Regions from separate parts of the Homo sapiens genome. Here region 2 is linked to region 1. Evidence: promoter capture Hi-C in 16 types of primary human blood cells and fetal thymus (Javierre and others, 2016). All regions are on one chromosome and are shown on one strand. Each heading gives the region's core, a stretch centred on a gene start or on the middle of the fragment in contact. The rest is flanking DNA. Distances are from core to core; before and after follow the strand shown. Region 1 holds the start of LATS1 (large tumor suppressor kinase 1). Region 2 overlaps RAET1E-AS1 (RAET1E antisense RNA 1).

Region 1 (2,752 bases), core at 174-2,673:
ACGTGACAGGATTCTGGGGGCAGTCTGCCCTTCCAGATGCATAATCCTTTTGGATAGGGCAAGCAGACCTGTGGACATATTAGATTCCTATAATTCATATAATTTTAGGGCTGAAAAGGTCTTTATGGGGCACCCTTACGTTGAAGAAAGTAAGCCCTGGGGCTCTTTAGTGACCCACCTTGGGTCACATTGCCTTCTACAAACTCTGTGCTTGTAGAAAATAGACTTTCAACCAAATGTTCTTGGAACATAATCTTTTTTTTTTTTTTTTTTTTTTTGAGACGGAGTCTCGCTCTGTCGTCCAGGCTGGAGTGCGGTGGCGCGATCTCGGCTCAATGCAAGCTCCGCCTCCCGGGTTCCTGCCATTCTCCTGCCTCAGCCTCCCGAGTAGCTAGGACTACAGGCGCCCGCCACCACGCCGGGCAAATTTTTCTGGATTTTTTAGCAGAGACGGGGTTTCACCGTGTTAGGCAGGATGTTCTCGATCTCCTGACCTCGTGATCCGCCCGCCTCGGCCTCCCAAAGTGCTGGGATTACAGGCGTGAGACACCGCGCCCGTCCGGAACATAATCTTTTAACGGGTTTTCACATTTGGATTTCTAGATACAGTAAGTAGCCAGTTATTACTTTAACGTCAGAAAAAGATGTCTTTAATTTTTTTGTACTCTGTAGTAGAAAAATTACGAAAGAAGGTACTTGAAAACACTAACTGTATATTTCCTAGAGGAAAAACTGGCAAAGGCGATCTTCACAAAGGGTGGACCGTACCTTATACATCAAACCCAACGATCCCATCCCACACTTTACATTCAGCTTAACCAGAAGTAAAACCTCTTGTCACACCGTCACCGGTATTCCAATTATGGCAATAACGATCTCCTTCTACGGATGCGGTTGACAGATAAGATCTCTAAACCGCTGCTAATCAATCGGTCCTGGCTCAAGCATTTCTTATCTGCCGGATTCAGAAAATACAGATGCTGGAAGCTCACCGGCTTGTTCGGGGAAAGAACGCTAAGCAAGAATAAAATTTTATTTCAAAGCGCCAAAAATCTGGAATTCTGAGGTCCACAGGGAGGTTTCCCAGAGCAACTCAGTTGTTCCCTTCTGAGAACGTAGCTCCGTGAAATGCACATCCCTACTCGGTCCAGAGAAATAGATCAATGGGGAAAAGGATTGAATCAACCAAGTAGGCTGGGCGGGAGACAGCCTTAACCCACGGGCGCGGGCGAGTCGTATGGGCAGGGGCAGGCGGGAGCGACGTGGGGCGACGCTCACGAACGATCAGAGCTGCGGGCGACGCAACGAAGCCCGGAGGCCGCAGGCTGCGCGCTCCCTCGCAGCAGCCGGGCGGGCAAAAGCCCCCAGTCCTCGGCCCCCGCGCAAGCGACGCCGGGAAATGCCCACATCCGGGAAACCTGCAGCGGAGTGCGGCGGCGGCGACACTGAGTGGAAGGCAAAATGGCGGCGGCGGCGGCGGTGGCCTGGTGTTAAGGGGAGAGCCAGGTCCTCACGACCCCTGGGACGGGCCGCGCTGGCCCGCGGCAGCCCCCCCGTTCGTCTCCCCGCTCTGCCCCACCAGGGATACTTGGGGTTGCTGGGACGGACTCTGGCCGCCTCAGCGTCCGCCCTCAGGCCCGTGGCCGCTGTCCAGGAGCTCTGCTCTCCCCTCCAGGTAGGTCCGGGGCTGGCGTAGCGGGTGCGCTCCTCCAGTGCTCGAGTTGGCGGGGCGGTGGCCGCCGGGGCCCACGCCCATCCCCGCTGGCGAGGGTCCAGAGGTTTGGACTGGCGGGCAGAGCCGGCCCGCTCCGGGCCTGACTTGGCTGGTTGCATTGACCCGAGCTGAGCCCTGCCCTGGGGAAGCGAGGGTTGGCCGCGCCCGGTGCTGCAGGAAGAGCCCCAGGCTTTTCGGCCTCGGAGGTGCAGGTTTGGCTGGGTAGAGCCTGTCTTTCTGGCGGCGTGTCTCCCACCCCACCCCCAACACGCGAGTCGGCGGTGTCCAGGAGGGAAGGAACGGGAAAGGTGGTTCTGAAGGAAAATTGCAGTAAAAGAGCTACAGTTCTTTGGATCCCAGAGGGCCTTGATCCTGGGTATACCTTAGAGAAATCCTGGGAGTCTCTTACGTCTAGTTCAGTGTGATTTTAGGTTACTGTTCATAGTTGGAAGAGGTGGGAGAGATGGAGAGGTCTTTATGGAGTAGGAGTGTGTATATAAATACAGCAAATGAAGGAACGACAATTAAGGGAACAGTGTTTTTTATAACCTGAAATAGCTTGTAGCTCAATGAATGCCTCAGATGACTTGATTTATCCCCATTCTGACTTCTCTGTCAATTTCTAAGGGAACAAAATTTAATGTTTGTCAACTCATATGTTAATACGGCTTTTAAAACATGTATCATCCTCCAGAAGTTATTCATAAATCTAGTGAACAATAAGTATAATCTCATGCACAGAAGTAATATTGTATAACTCCAGTTTTGGAAATGGATTTGAATGTTAGCGATCATGAAACTTGTTTGAACTTTATGAATTATTTATTGAAGGTTAATAAATTTATCAGTTTATCAGTTTATCAGAAGTTTCTGATAAACTTAATTTTTTATCAAATTTCCTCCATGAGGAAGAAAAGGTAGGACATTATAATTGGAGTGAATGTTCTGTGCTACGAAAACAAAGCTTATTATCTCTGACGGTAAAATGGGGTAGTTGATTCCTTAAGGCAGTGGAGGAATTTGATTGAACAGTAAAAG
Region 2 (2,700 bases), core at 14-2,513, 190 kb before region 1:
CTTCTCCATTTCTGGCTGACAGAGACCAAACAGGTTGGCTTTATTCCACTGTCCTCTAGTCGTTGGAGACTGCTTTCCAATACTGTCCAAATGTCACCTCCATCTTAGAGACTCCTTCTGGGAAAGATGACTTTGTAGCCAACAATTAGGGAGAAGAGAATAGGAAGCAGGAGAAAGAGTTAAAGTGCTGCACAGAAGCTTCCATCCACAAGAGGAGCACGCCACCAAAGCAGCTGTAGAATACACAGTATGGCAAAGGGCTGGAGTCCAGCCTGTGCTGTCTGAGAAGGCATACCAAGCTCAGAACCAGGTCCCACCCAGAGAAGTAGTCCAGTCCCCCTTGTCATTGAGAAATAGCCAAACCCAGTGCGCTAGACAGAGACCACGTACACCACACTCTCTCGCAGAAGCTGTCCAGGGAAGAGATAGACCAACAGGATGATCTGCAGACCATCCTTGGCCAGAGCCCTAGACCAAGGAGAGCTGGGCAAGTCCATGATGTCCAATCAGAGCTGGGCCCAGGGTTCATGTCTTGAACATCAGGAAGCCCCCAAATGCAGTGCCTCGCTGGTTTCTGTTTGTTACCAATGCCTGGGTTAACTCCAACCACACTCTCTCACCCTTTCGCAGCTCAGCCATGGCAAAGGTGGCTGCTGTGCTTCCCGCCCAGGGTCCCTGATGGAGCCCTCCAAACACCAGGTGCCTGGTTCCTGGCCCTGGGCCAAATTCAATGCTCACTGCAAATGGGACACCAAACTCCGGCTTGGTAGTAGCCATGTTCAGGGAAGTTGCTGCTGTCAGTGTCGATGTAGCTAGTGTTGAACTTCCATGTCTGCAGGGCAGCTGTCCTTTCTGAGAAACTGGCATAGAAGGCCACAGGGGAGCCTGCCTGCCAGAGCTCAGTGTTCAAGGCATCTGGCACTGGCCCTTTGATGTGTGTGTCTGGCAAAGGCTCAGCTTCTTTCCTGTCCCTCTTCCGGGGAACTTCTGGGCCTTTCTGCTTCTGCTTCCTTTTCCTGCTGGGCACGGTTTCCAGCTTCCCCAGATTTAGGCTGACACTGCTGTCACCAGCTCTTGGAAGTTTCCAAGGAGGAGCAGCTGGTGCAGTCCAAGCTGCACTCGGAGGCGGACCATGGAGGCCCCGAGGCAGGTGAGAGAGGTGGCTGGGCAGCCTTGCAGCACCACCCGAGCCACTGAAGTCAGATCTCAGGAGCTGGAGCTCCTGAGCCAGCCCAGCCAGGGCTTCACACAGCTTCTTCTGGGCCCAAGTGGTCGCCAGCTCCAAGTGCTCTGCCGGCCATGGGGGCTCCAAGCCACGGCCCACTCGTGGCCTGCTCCAGGGCTGCCACCCGGGTAGCCAGCGAGTCCCAACCGAGCACCTGCTCCTTCAGGGCCAGGCAGATCTGCTCACGGGCAGGGGAAGCTGGCCGTGCGCCTCCTTTGACCTCTCCTCCATCACCTCCTCCCCAGAGAGGGAGGCCAGCAGGCCTCCATCAGGGCAGCCTAGGAGCTGTGCAGCTGGCGCCGCCATCCAGGCTCCCCTGGGTCTCCTTCAGGGTGCGTGGTGTCCCCGTGGCACTCCCGGACGGCCTCCAAGTGAAAGTAGAGCTTGTGGCAGCTGCCTCCTTGACATACTTGATGAGGTCAGTGTGGTCGCCCCACAGGTGCTGCAGGGTGAGGCTGAGCTCCAGGAGCTGCTACTCCACCTCCACCTTGTTTGCCTCCATAATTAAAGGCTTCATCAGGACCACACACAGCTCACAGAGCGCCCTGTGGTTCACCTCCATCTCTGGCTCCATTTTGCTGATCTGATGGAAGGTCTCGTCCAATTCGGAGCACAGCTCCTTCATCTCATCCACGTGCCGGGTCAGGGTAGCCCTCATATCCCTGAGGGGTGTTTTGCAATTCCTCCTCCCTGCAGGCTGAGTCCATGTGCAGCACCCAGAGGTTCCTCTGCAGTTGGCCAGCCTGGCCTGCAGGCTCTCCAGTTCAGGCCTTGCCCCAGCCCCTGCCGTCATCAACACGCAGCTGCCATTAGTCCTTGGGGCCTCCTGGGTTTGGCCTCTTCAATTTGGTGTCCACATCAGCCTGGACCTCAGAGAGGGAGTGTACAGGGAAGAGCACCGAGCATGCCGTCAGTCCTCCACATCCTTTCACAGCTGGCCCACTCTCTGAGCATTTTCCTGGATCTTGGCTTCAAATTTACCACCAAGCTCCTGGCAGTCAGCCCTGGCCACAGCACTATCCTGGACCATCGTGATGGCCTGGTGTTGGCCTCCACATCAAGAAACAGATTTGTTATGTCCGGGGAAAAGCCATGCAAGCTTTCCTTTAAGCTCTTTCAGATGGGGCCGAAATGCACTTGCAGGAAGGTGTCCATGTGGGGCAGCAGCACCTGCTCCAAGGATCTACCAGACAACTCCAGCTCTGTTTGATTTGCCACACTGCAGCTGTGAGGTTACTAGCCAGGGCTTTCCACGGGCCTGGTAGGCTGTCACCTGGGGGAATGTCATCCTGGAGATCTCCCAGGAGGGATTCCTGCTGCTCCTGTTGCACTTCAGCCTCATTGATCTCCACAGCCAGGTGGCGTGACTTTAACTTCCTGGCCGTCTGGAGCACCCTGTGGACATGGCTGCTGTGAGTGGATGTAGAATTTCTCTGTTTTGCAAGCAGCTGTGAAGGTAACCAGCTAGGACTTCT

The links. Contacts are between HindIII fragments. The CHiCAGO score rates a contact against its expected background, and 5 or more counts as called.
Region 2: a fragment that was not itself captured here is called in contact with the fragment with the promoter of LATS1 in region 1 in 1 of 17 cell types (erythroblasts); the score reaches 5.3 in erythroblasts.

The regions. Positions count from the first base shown.
Region 1 is chr6:149,716,772-149,719,523 of GRCh38, reverse strand. It overlaps LATS1 (large tumor suppressor kinase 1), which reads left to right and starts at 1,423. Exons shown (of 8, transcript NM_004690.4): 1 at 1,423-1,675. LOC645967 (a long non-coding RNA gene) reads right to left here and starts at 1,903. Exons shown (of 1, transcript NR_134652.1): 1 at 628-1,903. RefSeq lists a silencer at 1,544-1,933. The HindIII fragment of the contact is 4,826 bases long and covers 1-2,680 here.
Region 2 is chr6:149,904,244-149,906,943 of GRCh38, reverse strand. The region is part of intron 1 of RAET1E-AS1 (RAET1E antisense RNA 1); the gene reads right to left. It also overlaps the pseudogene LOC100240714. Among named protein-coding and RNA genes, the nearest start is that of RAET1E, 7.5 kb to the right of the region's middle. The HindIII fragment of the contact is 2,126 bases long and covers 201-2,326 here.